Linked DNA regions of Homo sapiens: regions 1, 2 and 4 are each linked to region 3. The links are contacts of gene promoters, found by promoter capture Hi-C in blood cells and fetal thymus (Javierre and others, 2016). All regions are on one chromosome and are shown on one strand. The core of a region is centred on a gene start or on the middle of the fragment in contact, and the rest is flanking DNA. Distances in the headings are between cores, read along the strand shown.

Region 1 (4,326 bases), core at 1,556-4,055, 630 kb after region 3:
TGAACATGTATAAACGATCTCAAGCCATGCCAGGGAAATAAGAACAGATATCATGGAAACCATGTTAGCATGTCAGTGCATAGCCTACTGATGACAAACTCAGCAGTTATGCCAGACGAATTTAGGAGTCAAAATGTTTCCTTACACTGTCATTGTTTTCAATTTTCTGATTATATTTTTGAGATACATTCAATACCTCTGGCTTTACAGAACAGAGGTATGACCAGTGACTGATCATTCAATAATGCTTCTAATCAGAGTGATTATATGTGAGTGTACAAGTGTGTGTATGTTTGTGTGTGTCAGTATTATTTTGTTTTAGTATGACAGGTGACCTCTTTGCCATGTACACTTGTTACGGGTATGTGCACATGTAAAGCCAGCATAGAGAAATGCAATCAAATGTAACTCTGCAGGAGGAGGAAGAGTAGCAGAGGAATGGCTCTCTGCAGGGGATGTCACGTCTGAGCTCTGCTGTGAGAGGTCAGTGGGAGCTTGCATGGTGGATAGGGTTGTCAGATAAAATAAAGACACCCAGTTAAATCTGAATTTCAGAAAAACAATGAATGACTTTTTAGTAGGTATGTCCCAAATATTGCATGAGTGTTCTATATTTTTATCTGCTAAGACAGGCAATCCTAATGGTGGGAGAAGGACAGATGTGTATGCCAACCATCTTTCCTTCTTTGTCATGAATATTGTCAATATCAGCATCTATTAACGTTTACAGAACATGGGGAATGGAGTCCTTGCTCTTGGGGAACCCTAAGAATTACTCCTCCTGCCTAAAACACTCAGAACATGCCTGCTTCTTCAACCACAGCCTCCTCGAGATCATGCACTACAACTTATTCCTCCTTCTTCAGGACCTAGGCCAGTGACGGAAATGTCATAAACACAAAAGTACATTTTTAGATAAATGAGAATATAATATGGAATTATAGTAAAGGGAGGAAATTTGGGGTGAGAGGGCTAAAGATGACAAAACTGTGCATGGCTGAAAATACAGGCAACTTCAAGACGAATGACAATAGCCAAATGTGCAGCCATCTCCAACACCTATGAGCAGAACTGAACAATCTTTTAGCTTGGTTAGTATCATTGAACTGTCTCAAACTAGTGAAAAGTATACTAAGCACCACGGGCAATTTCAGGGAAGAGGGGAATGCACTAAATTGGGAGACCAACACTTATACAATTATCTGTTTTTTAAAACCCATGGTTAAGGAGGCCAAGGCATCGTAAAAGCAAAATGGGGAACAAGCAGTTCTAATTGGAACAGTTCAAGAAGTTTTAGGTAGAGAAGTTATATGAGGTATGTAAAAAGCCATGGCCCTCAGAGAGGCTTTGCACTTTATAGAATGTGTGTGTGTGTGTGTGTGTAATTATAAGTATATATACATGTATAAACATGGCTGCAAGAATAGTATATTCCCACATACTGTGTGTTATTCATATCAACTGATTGGAACTGAGCCTTAGGGAGAATCCACATTTTCTTTCAAAATACTCTAGAGTAGAAATGTTTAAACAAATAAAATAGTATTGATCCCATTTCAGATGTATAATAATTTTTCCTTTTTTAATGTATCTTCTTTTAAAAACAGCCTTCTCTTATTAAATAAGAAATACTTGGCCAGGTACAGTGGCTCACGCCTGTAATCCCAGCACTTTGGGAGGCCGAGGCGGTCGGATCATGAGGTCAGGAGATCGAGACCGTCGTCGCCAACATGGTGAAACCCTGTCTCTACTAAAATACAAAAAAATTAACGAGACATGGTGACGCGTGCCTGTAATCCCAGCTACTTGTGAGGCTGAGGCAGGAGAATCGCTTGAACCCGGGAGGCGGAGGTTGCAGTGAGCCGAGATCGCGCCACTGCACTCCAGCCTGGAGACAGAGCAAGACCCCGTCTCACAAAAAAAAAAAAAAAAAAAAAAAAGAAAAGAAAGAAAGAAAGAAAAAGAAATACTTGCTCACCACAGAAAACTTAAAAAATCCAGGTAAATAAAAATATAAAAATAAAAACCACCCATTATTCTTCCAGTTAGAGATAGTGACTCAAAATTTTTGCATATATATCAAGACATTTTTTCATATATATATATATATATATATATATGCATATGTCTATATTTAACAAAAGTGGTATCAGCCTCTATATGCAAATATAAGCTTGTTTTTTAAACTACAAAGTGTATCTATCCAAGTGACCAAATATATTCCCACACATAATTTTTAGTGCTTACATATATGTTTTCTACTGATGGCTTACTTAACTAAGTATTTATTGCTGAACATTAAAATTGTTTTCCATTTTTTGCTGTGACAAACTTCCTTACAGCTAAGTCTTTAAGGGCATCATCATTATTTCTGGGGAATCAGTTCCTAGAGGATCAATCGCTGAGTCAAATATTATGTACATTTTTAAGGCTTTTGATCCATATCACCACTTTCCTCTCTAGGAAGGTTGTGTCAATTTATAACGCTATATAAAAGGGCTTGTTTTCTTAATGTTTTCCAAATTTGGTCAGCCCAAGAAATCTGCCCATGAAATAAGAATTTATGTAGATGGAACAAATAGAATAATATATATATATATATTTTTTTCCGTAAGAAACCTTTCCTAAAAGCCAGGATTTTAAGAAATCCCACTTACCCACAATTAGCCTTTGGTGCAGTCAACTGATTTAGACAAGAACTTTTTAAGCCAACTTTTCAATCAAAGTCTGCCATGTTTGTGGAACTGTGGCTATTTACCATTTTACAATGACTTAATTGCAAATTAATGTATATCTTTTTTTTCTTGAGAAGATATAATAAGCTACCTTTTTAAAATGACAATCCATTTTATTTTCCTGGAGAAAAGAATCCATTTGCTTTAACCATAATCAGAGGAAGGTTATTTGGTCAAACAAAGTAAAAACCATAAACAATAGATAGCCATCATTACCACAGTAACATTGGTCCAGCTAGGAATTCACTTAGCTAAATGGGTGACTTCCTACTCACATACCTCCTCAGTGCACAACAAACACAGGAGCAAACAAAAGCCTTTACAGAATCCAGAACCACCAGGCAAGAAGATATAATAATCAAGCAATCAAGCAAAAGTTTAAAAATACTGCCTAAACTGCACCAAAAAAAAAAAAGAAAAGAAAAGAAAAGAAAATGATACTACAAGAGAGAAGTTAATGAGGCAGAAAGATATTCTCAAATATAAAACCCCCTCCAGGACTTTTAAGAAAGGTATCAGAGGCATATGGAAGGCTAAGTCCAGGATGGATTTAACTGAAGAAAAGGATATTTAGAGATTATCAACATTTTCTAATGCAACAGAAAACCAAGCCAACTTAGTCTCCTACTTAGTAAGTGCCAGCTCTATTCTTCATCTTTTTGGAGATCCAGAAAAATCAAAAAGAGAAAATATCCAAATATAGAAGCTTAATTTAACAAAATTGGAAAAACCTAAACTATACTGTGCTCTGGTGACCTAGCAATCAAATAATCACAGTCATTTGGTCAATGTCTATGATTAACTCAATGAGACAGGATGTTTGGCTATAGCACCAGGTACAAAAAATATATTTTCATGAAGGATCACTCCCTCTTATGTAATAGATTTGGGTGAGTGAGTGAGTGAGTGAGTGCATGGACTCACAGCTTTTGGCTTTCTGAAATACCCTGCATCAGTCTTGTTATGATGATTCCTTAGTGCTGGGATGGATCATCCAGGCATTTAAGGTAACACGATGGTAATTCTTTGCTCATTTTTCAGGGAAAAAAAAAAGTTATCACTTCCAAAGTCGGCATAGTCACCCGAAGTAAAAAAAAAAAAAAAAAAAAAGCCTCAGAGGCAAAGGAAAGGGGCCGCAACCTTGGTTAACTGTGAAATGACGAATGAGAAAACTCCTCCTGCTGAAGATATTCAGGTATATAAAGGCACATGAAGGAAAACTCAAAACATCATTGTCATATACACATCTTCTGGATTTTTTAGCTTGCAAAAAAAATGAGCACCAAACCTGATATGATTCAAAAGTGTTTGTGGCTTGAGATCCTTATGGGTATATTCATTGCTGGCACCCTATCCCTGGACTGTAACTTACTGAACGTTCACCTGAGAAGAGTCACCTGGCAAAATCTGAGACATCTGAGTAGTATGAGCAATTCATTTCCTGTAGAATGTCTACGAGAAAACATAGCTTTTGAGTTGCCCCAAGAGTTTCTGCAATACACCCAACCTATGAAGAGGGACATCAAGAAGGCCTTCTATGAAATGTCCCTACAGGCCTTCAACATCTTCAGCCAACACACCTTCAAATATT
Region 2 (4,110 bases), core at 650-3,149, 580 kb after region 3:
TCTAGAAACTCTCAAGAGAGAACAGACAACCATCTAGCTAGATGATTTCTCATTTTTCTACATGAAAAACAGGTACACAAAGCAGGTAACCCTGAGATAAAATTGAGACAAATAATTAATGATTCTACCCACTCTATTCTCTCAAACATGCCAATAACAAGTTAAAAAAAAAGTTTGAAATGAAATTGAGTCAGACATGTAATTGCAAACCATGTATCCTCCTCAAAGACTGAAAAGAGGTCTACCTTTAGAGCCAGAAAGATGCAGGTCTGAGTCCAGACTCTGCCCCTTGACCAGTTACCCTTGTGGGCTAAATGCTTTCTCTTTGTGCTTTAATTTCTTTCTTTGTTGTTAGGGTGCTAATACCAATATCACAGTGGGTTTTGGGGATAAGTGAGATAATATAAGTAAAGATAGGTAAATGTCAAGTGTTAAATTTATTAATCTGGATTTCTCCTATGATCAGATTTCAGGTGGTGTGATGATCAATAGGAGTCCCAACCATAATGTGCTCTTTCTTTGACTTCTTCCCCACAAGACCTAAGCACATGACCCTCAAAAAGTGTAAAATCTTGAGGCACCTCAGAGGGAAGCACCATTTCCCCACTCGTGGTTTGGATGAGGAAGAATTTTCCCTATGCATCCTACTATCCTCTCTATGTCCTTTTACTAACATCGCCCCAGGGCAAGTGGAGGGATGGATTCACTTAGTTGGCAAACCGCACATGCTCAGCTGGCTCAGCCTGACCTTTTTTCCTCCTGCGAAGTGCCTGCTTTCAAGTGTGCTACCTGCTGCTTCCCCAGCTTTCTGCCTTTATGAATGGAATTGGTCTGCTCTCACCAGTGCTACATGGGAAAGGGTGGGCAAATCCAGAGTTTAGAGTTAACAGGCCCATTGGTTAACAGTCTGGCTTCCATAAGAAACAAAGTTGATTTTTGTTTTTGTTGTTGTATTGTTACTATCAACTTCTTTGAAGCCACATAGGGAAGAGTGGTGTGACTTGTTTATTAGGGCTCTATTGGAGAACTAACATTGTTAAGTTGTGCAGAGTGGCTTGGCTATGCAAAGTTAGCTGTTTTTGTTAGCAGAGACTCTTCGTGACATTAGTTCAACAAGAACTCTGTTTAAGACATAACTTACTCATCTGCAGAAAGTCTGTCTACACACCAGAAATGCATAGCCTTCTCAAGAGATTTCTCAGCTAAGAAAGAAAACCTAGTCATAGGGTGCATTTGTACCAGTTACTGCTCAGTGGCAGACACACAGAGACAGACTGCTCAGAACAGAGTCCCCCATCATCTATGAAGTGCTTCTGAATCCTCCACAATTGACAGTGAGCTTTAGGCCTGACAGTCCCATGCCCCTGTATGTGGCTACTGTCTGGGAACATGATTATCAGAAGCTTTCTCCAGGGAACTGAAAAACTTTCTATCCACTCAGATAAGGCCTCTCCCTTGCCCAGCCTCGATTTCCTCAAACTTCTCTCTGGCTTAACTTCAACTCCTGGTAAAGCAGAGGGAACAAGGTACCAAAAGAAGGAGCAAGAAGGACGGGATGGCTGGTCATCGTGTGCACCTTGCATGCACATCTCTGATGCGAATGCCCCAGGACCACATACTGTGCTGTATTTCTTTGCTCACATGTCTGGCCCCTCCATCAGTTTATGAGGGTTGGGAGCACACCCTAGACTTCACTGCATCCCTGGTACCTAACACAGGACCCAGCAGAAACAGGAACTCAGTAACTTTTTGTGGTTAAACTGTGTATCTAAATGATTGTTAATCAAATACCGCACAGATAAACAGTTCTTTCTCCAGTTGAGAGGACTAGGCCCCCATAATCATAATGAGACAATGGACAAAAGGAATCTTTTCAGAAAACAGAACTACTTCATGCAAAGATCAACAGTGGCTACTGGACATGATGTTTCCCAGGCCAATCTAAACAGCTCCCATGTTTTCATTTTCTAGCATTCAGTGAAAAGTCAGCTCCTTTGGAAGCATGCCCACTGGCTTAAAACAATGTTTAAAAAGTCATGGTAGAACTTTGTAAAGATCTTTGCAATACCACGCAAAGACCTTTACCTTTGTGCTTTGTTTAAAAAATAAGTTTTAAAAATATACCTCAGAGGAAAAAATAATGGGGAAGAGAGCAAGCTAATCAACTTGGGAATTTTTCTTTTTTTGTAGAGATGGGGGTCTTGCCATGTTGCCCAGGCTGGTCTTGAAATCCTGGGCTCAAGCAGTCCTCCTGCCTCAGCCTCCCTAGATGCTGGGATTACAGGGATGAGTCACAGTGCCTGGCTGGGAATTTTTTTTCTAATACGAGAAAAAAAATGTATCATCTCACCTCCTTTAGTGAAAACTCAACTTCTGTGACTTTGGTGTCCATGCCCAAGCTTCTGTCTCTGTTGCATCCACTCTTGTTGCCTTTGTACCCTTCAGTGACAGCATCCTGGCCCCTAACCTGTCTCCCTCAATCATCCCACACAACACCACGACATTAATTTTCCTCGAACTTTGATCCTGCTACCCATTCCGTGTGCATCTGCTAGGGAGGCCTGATAGCAAGGTCATGGCTGACAGGATTGTACAGCAGGAAGAACTTCTGAACATCAGTTAATTCAATAGAGCCTCTTAATTTATTAAAAACAAAAACAAACAGCTAGTGCCCAGAAAACTGAAGTGAATATTTAAAGGTTCACAGTTAGGACAGACCTGGGGCTGAAAACAAAGCCTCAACCTCAGTGCCTGTGTTCTTTCCACTAGGCAATGGATCTGTTTAATACTTCAGCAAGTCTGACACTTAATGGCCCTTCAAAACTTCCCCCCTCCCTTTTCGTGCCAGGCGTGGTAGCTGACACCTAGAATTTCAGCACTTTGGGAAGCCAAGGCAGGAGGATCGCTTGAAGCCAGGAATTAGAGACCAGCCTGGGCAACAAAGCAACACCTTCCCCCTCCCCCAGCCATCTCTGCAAAACAAAACAAAACAAAATTAGCCTGGCACGGTGGCACACACCTATGGTCCCAGCTATCTGGGAGGCTGAGGCAGGAGGAGGATCACATGAGCCTAGGAGTTCGAGGCCACAATGAACTATAATCATGTCACTGCATTCCAGCATGGGCACAGAGTGAGACCCTGTCTCTTAAAAGAAAAAAAAAAAAAAGAAAAGAAAACTACCCCAACTTAACTGTCTTTTTAGATCTATGGAGAGATGTAGATATAGATATTATTCATATTCCTGGTGATTTTTAAGCCTTTTAAAGCAACATAGCTCCTTTGTTCCTCCAAATGAAGTTTTATGCAGGCCCTCAATTTTATAAAAATAAATAAAAATTATTTATCTCTTCTGCAGCTGAAGCAGGGTGTCTACTCCTCTCAACAGCCACTGAAACACCTCTGAGAACTTTCAGGTTTCGCTTGATCAATCGGACAACTCCCCAGACCCCTAATGCTGACTGCACTTGTCAGTGGCTAAATCCCTGCCCCTGCCCTTTCTTTTGCCTTCCGCCTGCCATAATCCTCCAGCCTCCAGGCGACTTCTCCCTACAGTGCTGTTAGGAAGTGACTCTTGTCTCTCCTTTGCTCCAAAGCTCTGAATCTGTAGCCCTTCCTTTGTATCTAAACAGTCCGATTTGTTGGTTATTCTCACAGCTCACCCCCAACTTCTGGCCCATCTATAATCAGGGCCCACCCACCCATCTGTTAGCCCTGTGGGCCCATCAAAGCAGGCTTCAAACACAAGCTGCCACCTCTGGTGGAGGTTCAGCCTACCCCTTCCCCTTCTCTCCTGACCCTTCCCTAATCTGGCTTTGTTTCTGCCATCCCTGCCGCACTCATTTGGAACCCTTGCTTTTCTCAGCAAATATTTATGGGTTTGACTTGTTCTTATTGAGTTCTATACTCTTCCCCCAGCACTGCCTCCCCCTGGCCTTTTATCTTTTGTTTGTTTGTTTTTTTCTCTTTCACTTTTCCCCTTTTGAGCTCTGGCGGCTCTGGTAGAAGGTGGTGGCTGCTGAAGGAAAAAATACAACCCCTTCTCACCCTGAACCATCTGTCCACGGACTAACTAGTAAGTTCCCTCTGGGTTTCCTGGGGACACTCGGAAA
Region 3 (4,662 bases), core at 94-2,593:
ATAAGTTTTTAATAGCATAAACTTTGACCCAGGAATTTCAGTTCTCACACTCTCTCCCAACATAACTCTTGTAGGAGATATATACATAAAGGTGTTTGTATTGTAGTCACAACAATACAAAAAAACCTGCACACCCAAATATCAGAAAAATATAATACAATACCAGGCAGTCAGTAAAAATAACAAACCACGTATATAAAGAAGCCTATCACAACAATGCAGGTATTCAACAGCGGGAATAACACAATACAGCTTAAGTGTAGGAACTTAAAAACACGTATCTCACGAGGAGTGATTAAAAGAGGCCGCGTATCAAAATACTAATGGAGGGGCAAGAAAAGGGACTTGACGCTTTCCCTTTATTTCCTCATTGAATGAATTTAAAGTACCTATTCATTCATTTGTTTTCAAACAAATTATGAACTTTTTTAAAACGGCGTTCTCTTGGCAGACTGGTGGCGTATAAAGAACATGGCTTTTGTAGTCAGATATTTGGATTCAAACCTAGGAGCTATTAACAAACTCTGTGACCGTGGGTAAAGTTTAACTTCTTTGGGCCTCAATTTTCTTATCTCTAATGCGGAGTTAACCATATCTACGAAAAGGTGAAGACGAAGGGAGAAGTGTTTGGCTCGCAAGGGAAATGAAGGCTAGCTTCCAACTCGTATTCTTCCGGCAGAGTGAAACCATAGGAGTGGAAGGAGCCAAGAGTTTAAAAAATAAATTAAAAAAAAAGTGATCAGGAAATCCAGAAACTTGAAGTTCAAGATTCAAGACACGGATGGGAGTGTGGGGCTCACCAGGACTTAGGTAGGAACATGAACCTCAAGGACGGACGACCTTGAGATTGCCGCGCTAGCAGTGAGCTCCAGCCTGCGCCCCATCCCTCTGGAAGCCCGACTTCTTCCGAAAAAGCAGCAGCTCCAGGAAGCGGCCAGAGGGGCGCGCACGCACCTGCTGCAAGGAGCCCGAGACGCTGGAAGAGTCGGTACTCCTCCGCTTCCGGCGCTCGCTGCGCTCCACGCTGCTCCCGCCCCAACAGCTGCCGCCGCTCCCACCGCCGGTGACACTTCCACTAAAATTGGCGTTCCCACAGCAGCTGACGCTCCCGCAGCCCCCGGCGCTCCCGCAGCCGCTAGTGCTTCCACTGCTGCCGCTGGCCAACGCGGGTACGATGTCCGGGGCCGCGAGCGCTGCGGCCGCCTCCTGACTGCTACGTTTGCGCCGTTTCTCCCGGGAGGACTTTTTCCCCGTCATGATCCCTCTGCTGCAACCATCGGAGGAAAGTCCGCTGTCTCTGGTGCGACCGAAGCCCGACTCCTGCGGCCGTGGGCGGCAGGCACTGGCGTCGCAGGTTATGCGTCACTTCCGGCCGTGGCACAGAACGTGGTGAAGCGTTATGGGCCGGGGTGGCAGGGGGGTTGCCATAACCAGTTGCGCTTCCCCCTCCGGTCGCGGAGGTCGATTTGAGTGTGTAGCGGGTAGCCTGTCTAGTCAGAGTTTGTTTTGTTTTGTTTTTATATCTCTACAAAGGATAGAAGGTGGAACTTACGTCCTTTTAACTTCAAAACTTTTTATTGTTAGTGTTTTGTCTGTTTACAATAAGGTTGAAGTATAGTTGCTGATTCTCCATTTCCGTTTACCTCCAAATCTTAAGATATTAACAACGCTATGACAATAAAGAGAATAGGGAAAAGTTGTTCCATCTCATTTTCCTCATCACCTGGGCAAATTAGGTATTTCTTGCGTAGAGTCTGACATGGACAAGTAGAGCTTGAGTTCGTTTTTGAAAATTGAGAATGGGTCAAAGCTTTATGAGATTTTATGGGTGGATGTAATCTAAATAGAAGGCAGATTTTAAGACAAGGGAGCTAGAACACTTAAAACGTGAACCAAGGTCTTTGTCGTTTCAGCAGGGGCCTTTAGCCACTGAGGGAAAAAGGTAGAGCCTGGGGCAAAGCTAGCTGGGTGGTAGTAATTCTGTGCCTTTCCCTGGGGTAAGAAGCAATTAAAGAAGCTTCCCTTCTCTTTGTCTCCTATTTGTCTCAGTCATTCAACAACTACTTAAATGCCTAAAACCAGCCTAGGGTTAATAAATAGGGACACTTCCAGCCCTAGGAAAACTGTCTTCCCCCAGGCCCCACTCTTAAATTGGCCTTGTAAGGTAAATCCTGGGGCTGAGCCCACTGTGTTCCCAGGAGTTCCGTTAAGTATCACACTCATTGGAGTCATACCTGAAAGGATTGAGAGTGTTGTGTTCACAGATAGGAAAAACACATAAAATTAATAACATGTTACATTTATAAACCTGTTATGAATTGTGTCCCTGAAACCATCATAATTTTAATAAAACTAAATTGCTAGATTTTTTCTTTTTTCTTTTTTTTTTTTTTGAGACGGAGTTTCACTCTCGTTGCCCAGGCTGGAGTGCAATGGCACAATCTCGGCTCACTGCAACCTCCGCCTCCCGGGTTCAAGCATTTCTCCTGCCTCAGCCTCCTGAGTAGCTGGGACTACAGGCATGCGCCACCATGCAGGGCTAATTTTGTATTTTTAGTAGACAAGGGGTTTCTCCATGTTGGTCAGGCTGGTCTCGAACTCCCGACCTCAGGTGATCCACCCGCCTCAGCCTCCCAAAGTGCTGGGATTACAGGCGTGAGCCATCGTGCCCTGCCAAATTGCTGGATTTGTGACAAAAGATAAGCTTTTAGTAGAAGCATAGCTAAACGTTAACCAACTTTTCCTATAGCCCACTTCCTTATAGCTGCTTATTGCTTTATAGATATCTTTGACTCGGTTAAGAAATCTCAAGTTTTCCATTTTGAGATATTTACCAGATTCTGTACTCCAATGGTGTTACAGAAGTTAAGAAATTATTTTAGGCAGATAGAGAGGTAAAGGGGTCTTTGGGAAGTTTTTTTTCTTTTAAAGCAGCTCCAGAAATGTTTCTTGTCTAGCAAAAAAGCTGGGCTGGCAAGCTATGATATGCAAATGCAGGCCGTTAGAAACTGGGTTTACTCAGTATGGCGATTCCCCTCTTCTTCTTGTCCCCACATGTGCCTAGCAACATGGCCATCCCCACATATCCCCACATGTGTAGAACATTGTGGCACCCTACATTCGCATATTAAAAGGCTAGGGTGGGAGGGCCACTTTTTTTGCAGGCTACGTGAATGACATACCTGGTCAAACCAATTCCCTGGGTCATATGCAAATTAGTCACCACCTCCTCCAGCCTCATAATATAACTGGCTCTTGTCTGCTGCACCCAAGGTTCCCTCTTTCATCTGGGAGCCCTCTTCCCTCTGGTTCTGTATGAGGGAGCCTCTTCTTTCTTGCCTATTAAATTCTCCGCTCCTTAAAACAATTCCACTTGTGTCTGTATCGTTTTATTTAAACCAGCACGAGACAAAAGACTGTGGTGTTCCTCCAGTCATTGGAACCATATCAGTGGGGTCACTGATGCTACTCAGTCTGAAGACCCCTTCTGAGAAACGAACTCAGCACAAGAATGCACTTTCTACCTCCTTATGATTACATCCCCCATGCCCTAACCAATCAGCAACCCCTAGCTCCTCAGCCCCCTACCCACCAAAATTCCCTTAAAAACCCCTGTCCAAAAACTTACTGGGGAGGTGATTTGAGGTTCCCTCCCATCTTCTCCCTTGGCTGGCATACCATTATTAAACTCTTTCTCTGCTGCAACTCCTGCTGTTTCCATGTATTGGTCTGGTACCATGTAGTGGTTAATAGAACCTGATGGTCCTATAACATCACCCACAGAATTCATATGTTGAATCCCTAACCCCAATGTGACTGAATTTGGAGATAGGGTCATTAAGGAGGTAATTAAGGTTAAATGAAGTCATAAGGGTGGGTCCCTAATCTAATATAACTGGTGTCCTTATTAAAAGAAGAGTCTGGGCCAGGCATGGTGGCTCACGCCTGTAATCCCAGTGCTTTAGGAGGCCGAGGCGGGTGGATCATGAGGAAGATGGAAACCATCCTGGCTAACACGGTGAAACCCCGTCTCTACTAAAAATACAAAAACAAAATTAGCTGGGCGTGGTGGCAGGCGCCTGTAGTCCCAGCTACTCAGGAGGCTGAGGCAAGAGAATGGCGTGAACCCAGGAGGTGGAGCTTGCAGTGAGCCAAGATCGCACCACTGCACTCCAGCCTGGGCGACAGAGCAAGACTCCGTCTCAAAAAAAAAAAAAAAGCCTGGTACAGTGGTGCATGCCTGCAGTGCAAGCTACTCAAGAGGCAAACTGGGGAGGATTGCTTGAGGCCAGAAATTCTGGGCTGTAGTGCGCTGTACTGATCAGTTGTCTGCACTTAGTTCAGCACTAATATGGTGACCTTTTGGGAGTGGAAGCCACCAGGTTGTCTAAGGGGGGTGAACTGGCCGAGGTCCAAAATGGAACAGGTAAAAACTCCCACGCTAGGCTGGGCGTGGTGGCTCACACCTATAATTCTAGCACTTCGGGAGGCCGAGGCAGGCGGATCACTTGAGGTCAAGAGTTCAAGACCAGCCTGGCCAACATGGTGAAGTCCCGTCTCTACTAAAAATACAAAAATTAGCCAGAAATTGCTTGAACCCTGGAGGCGGAGGTTGCAGTGAGCCGAGATGGTGCCACTGCACTCCAGCCTGAGCAACAGAGT
Region 4 (4,018 bases), core at 1,505-4,004, 660 kb after region 3:
AAAACAACCACTAAAATAAATCAAAGAGTATAGTTAATAAGACAATAGAAAAGACATAGTAGAATAAAAAAATCCAAAAGTAAGGAGAAAACAAAAAGAACAAATAGAAAACAGCAAGATGACAGCTTTAACCTACCATGCCAATAATCATATTAAATGTTCTAAATGCCCCAATTACAAGCTGGAGATTGTCAGATTGGATGAAAAAGCATTTATGAAGCACTAGTCAGGTACTGAACTAAGGATCGTATAAGGTCTCATTAAATCCTCTGGTGAAGTACGTATTATCACTCCATTTCCAATATTTACAAAATGAACCTTGCATAGGTTAAGTAACTTCTCCAAGCAGCACAGCAGGGATTCACACTCGGGCTCTGAATAGTGCAAGTAGACCTGTAAAACCTGCTTCCTTACTCTCCTTTCAATTCAGCTACACTGAGTACCAGTTACATGGAGTTACTAAGTTAGGAGCTGTGCCCATGGCAATGACTGTAACTGTCTGGGATGAAATCCACCTTTACCAGCTGTGTGACCTTGGGCGGTGTATTACACATCTTTAAGCTTTAGTTTCCTCATTTGTAAAATGGAAGTAATAAAACTAGTCCCATAGTGTTACTGTGTGTTAAATGGAGGTGGTTGACTGTTTTTGTTACTTTAAGCTATACCCTGCAGATCATAGGAGAAATATCAATTTGTGCAATTCTACATCAAAATCAAAATAGTATTATATAAGAGTGATCTGTTTAAACTGTAGCATTATAGAAATATACTATAGAAGGAACTATTTTATATTTACTTTATAGTATTATATGAAGTTTTGGTTTCTTCTTTGAGAATCATAGTAATGTGATCAGTTAGTCTTCTTTTAAAGAAACCTCTCATCCCAACTATTCTATTTTCAAAAAAAAACTTTTTCTTGGAGTGAAAATGTCAAACCTATTCCTAGCTTTGCAGATGAAAGTGTTCAGATTCCTTGGATTTTTACTTTGGATACATGTATTAGATACCTGGGATGAATAACTTCAGTTTAGGTTATATTAATATTATAATAATAAGAATGTTTAAAAACAATTTATCTAAATAGTATTTTACATTTGAAATATTAATATATAATTTGAAAAATCAAAATGAAATCCAGAGAGTTAAGCAGAAAGTTTTTTTAACATAAGATTATATTATAAAGCTTCTTTAAATATTTTTTCTTTGAAAAGACAAAATTAATTTTAAAAAAAGTTTAGATCCAGCATGACTGTCAGCTGAACAGAAGCTGATCAGTCTTCAAATATCATAGTATTTTTTTCTGAATGAACAACTGAAAGAGGCAAAATTTCAAATATATTTTATTCAAAATTCTCCATTTAGGAGAAAAGATATATAACAATGTTTACACATGCTTTAATAACTTATTTCACTGTACAACTTACATTCTGTATAACAGTACAATAAACCAGCCAAAGAAAATAACCAGTTAGCACTTAAATAAGAATCTACCATGTAAAAAACACAGTATGGGACACTACAAGGTAGTATTTATATATTTTTTAAATGACTGAGCTACAGTACAACAGTCATCTAGTTCAGTGGTTGTCTAAAACATCAAGCTGTCCACATCTTTCTGATTCATGATGGGAAAGCTATTATGACCTTTCACATTCGAACATGTCATTTTGTTGTGTAAATTTGGTGGGTGGGGGGCAGAAGGGCTCTATTACCTTTATCCCTTTCTTATAAATATATTTTCCCTTTTATATTACTTCCAGAATTTTAAATAAAATATTTATTTGTGTTTGTGTAACTACAATGTCAACATTGTGTTAGAATTATATTAATCAGTTATTTTATAGCCAGCAAAATGGTCCAAACGCATTAAGAAAACAAAAGATAACTTAGCTCTGCCAAAGTAGCACCTAGGAAAACAGCACTTCAGTAAAATTTCTCCTGCTATTCCTTATAGCCTATTGCAGGCAAACAGCAACAACTTCAAAAACATAGGCAGAAATGCAAGAAGGAAGTACTCAAGGAACTATTTTCTGTTTCTGAAAAAAAGATCTTATTAGTTAGTATATTCTCTAAGGCATTTTATAATCTCAGAGTTGCAATGATTGCCAAAGCAGGTACATGGTAAGACTTAGCAAGAAGAAAACAAGATGAAAATGACTGACCAGTGAAATCTGAACTTGTTCCAAGTAATTAGATTTTCTAAGGAGAAAAAAGGCACAGGAGGTGCACATTTCAATTTGGCTCAAAAATAATGAAAATTAATTTAAAAAGTTGGCAACAATTACTAAAACATAAAATACAATTTCCTTTTACAGAGCTCAACTACATAGAATATCAACAATAGCAAGAACAATAAAATAAACAAAACACCCTAACTGTGGTTCACCAGGAACAAGGACTATAGAGAACTATTAGACATTTCTACAGACTGAATCCCAGGGACTAAATCCACAAAGTAGGATCTAATAATCAATTCCAATTAAACATCTGCTTGATCAATTTTCTTTCTAAAGCTCATCCTATGTTCAAGCTCACTTTCTTTCTGTGGAATTGAAATCATTTAAAGGCTCTAGTTTTCAGTTGATTGCAGAAGTATTACAGTAATTCTACACACCAAAGAATGCCAAAAGATAGAAAGTCAACTATCTGTAAAAGCCAACTCAGATTTCACCTTGACACATGTAAACCATGAATCATGTATTTCAAAAAAACAGTAGTTGTGGTCAAGTTTACATCCTATTATTATATCTTTAAAAGATAGCAATAATATTTATTATATTGTAAACATAGGTCTGTATCCCAAAAGCATAAATCTAGGAAAAGAGACACCCAATGTAATGATGCACCTGACATCCCCTCACAGGCTCTTGTGAGAACTGTAGTGTAACTTACTTAACTGCAATTGCTGAGAGCAGAATTCTGGAGTATGATCCAGGGGAACGTTTCCCCACACCACTGAGCTACTTTACCAGCGATCATGATTGTGATGGAATAGGCTTATTAAGTTACACATTTAAAAAGTCATTAGAACATCTCGTTCTTGCACACTAGTGTAGAAAGGTCTTCCAAAGATAAAAGAGTGTAGGCCTGGTTTAATTTTCTCAGCCAGAGCCATTATTATGTTAAGATCGCCCTCTGCTGTTAAATCAAGGTCTATCTTCAGGTTCCGAAGAGATTTAAAGGGCTTTTTTCCCTTCTGCCTAAAAATAATGGAAAAAAAAAAAAAAAAAAAAAAAAAAGAAGCGCAAAAATTATGATATAGAAAATGTACAAAGGAAACAAAACAAAAAAACAATGTACAAAGGTTTTTCTTCCGTGTAGGAGTTTTACTCACGTATCGTCTTCTATATATTTTATTAGTGTCAAGGCTTTTCTGTGAAGGACAAGTAGAAACTGTGCAAGGAAAGTACTTCTGAGAGATAAGCCAGGTTTCAGCTGAAAGACCTGCAGGGAGAGGAACCATTTCAACACATAATTTGCTCACATTCTACTCGTACAGAAGTTTCTATGACAGTGTTGACAGTGCTTGGCAGACAATACACACTAAACATCTCCTTAACCATTTCCACTGATGCCCCCTAACAGGAGTGTGGTATAGAAGCACTAGGTGTAGGAACAATCTGATATTTTTTTTTTTTTTTGAGACGGAGTCTAGCTCTGTCACCAGGCTAAAGTGCAGTGGCGCGATCTTGACTCACTGCAACCTACACCTCCTGGGTTCAAGCGATTCTCCTGCCTCAGCCTCCCAGGTAGCTGGGATTACAGGCACACGCTGCCACGCCCAGCTAATTTTTGTATACTTAGTAGAGACGGGGTTTCACCATGTTGGCAGGATGGTCTCGATCTCCTGACCTTGTGATCCACCCACCTCGGACTCCCAAAGTGCTGGGATTACAGGCATAAGCCACCAGGCCCAGACAATCTGACAGTTTTTAGAAGTTTTCTAATTTATCTTTAAAAATGCATTCAAATTTTGCATTCTACTTCAGAATACATCCATGTTTACTTCACTTTTAAA

The links. The method cuts DNA at HindIII sites, captures the fragments that hold promoters and counts their contacts. A CHiCAGO score of 5 or more calls a contact.
Region 1: a fragment that was not itself captured here is called in contact with the fragment with the promoter of CAAP1 in region 3 in 4 of 17 cell types (total B cells, activated CD4 T cells, naive B cells and 1 more); the score reaches 8.2 in total B cells.
Region 2: a contact is called between a fragment that was not itself captured here and the fragment with the promoter of CAAP1 in region 3, in 1 of 17 cell types (erythroblasts). The highest score is 5.0, in erythroblasts.
Region 4: a contact is called between a fragment that was not itself captured here and the fragment with the promoter of CAAP1 in region 3, in 5 of 17 cell types (activated CD4 T cells, naive B cells, total CD4 T cells and 2 more). The highest score is 6.7, in activated CD4 T cells.

Annotation. Positions count from the first base shown.
Region 1 is chr9:27,520,327-27,524,652 of GRCh38, forward strand. The region is part of intron 1 of MOB3B (MOB kinase activator 3B); the gene reads right to left. It overlaps IFNK (interferon kappa), which reads left to right and starts at 3,964. Exons shown (of 2, transcript NM_020124.3): 1 at 3,964-4,326. The coding sequence starts at 4,011. The HindIII fragment of the contact is 1,268 bases long and covers 2,172-3,439 here.
Region 2 is chr9:27,466,962-27,471,071 of GRCh38, forward strand. The region is part of intron 1 of MOB3B (MOB kinase activator 3B); the gene reads right to left. Among named protein-coding and RNA genes, the nearest start is that of IFNK, 55 kb to the right of the region's middle. The HindIII fragment of the contact is 996 bases long and covers 1,402-2,397 here.
Region 3 is chr9:26,891,459-26,896,120 of GRCh38, forward strand. CAAP1 (caspase activity and apoptosis inhibitor 1) reads right to left here and starts at 1,344. Exons shown (of 6, transcript NM_024828.4): 1 at 955-1,344. The coding sequence starts at 1,257. It also overlaps the pseudogene RN7SL100P. RefSeq lists enhancers at 743-1,322, 894-1,073, 1,154-1,373, 1,323-1,902, 1,504-1,573. The HindIII fragment of the contact is 2,677 bases long and covers 1-1,808 here.
Region 4 is chr9:27,545,223-27,549,240 of GRCh38, forward strand. It overlaps C9orf72 (C9orf72-SMCR8 complex subunit), which reads right to left. Exons shown (of 11, transcript NM_018325.5): 10 at 3,335-3,444; 11 at 1,324-3,200. The coding sequence ends at 3,014. Among named protein-coding and RNA genes, the nearest start is that of MOB3B, 17 kb to the left of the region's middle. The HindIII fragment of the contact is 3,146 bases long and covers 1,182-4,018 here.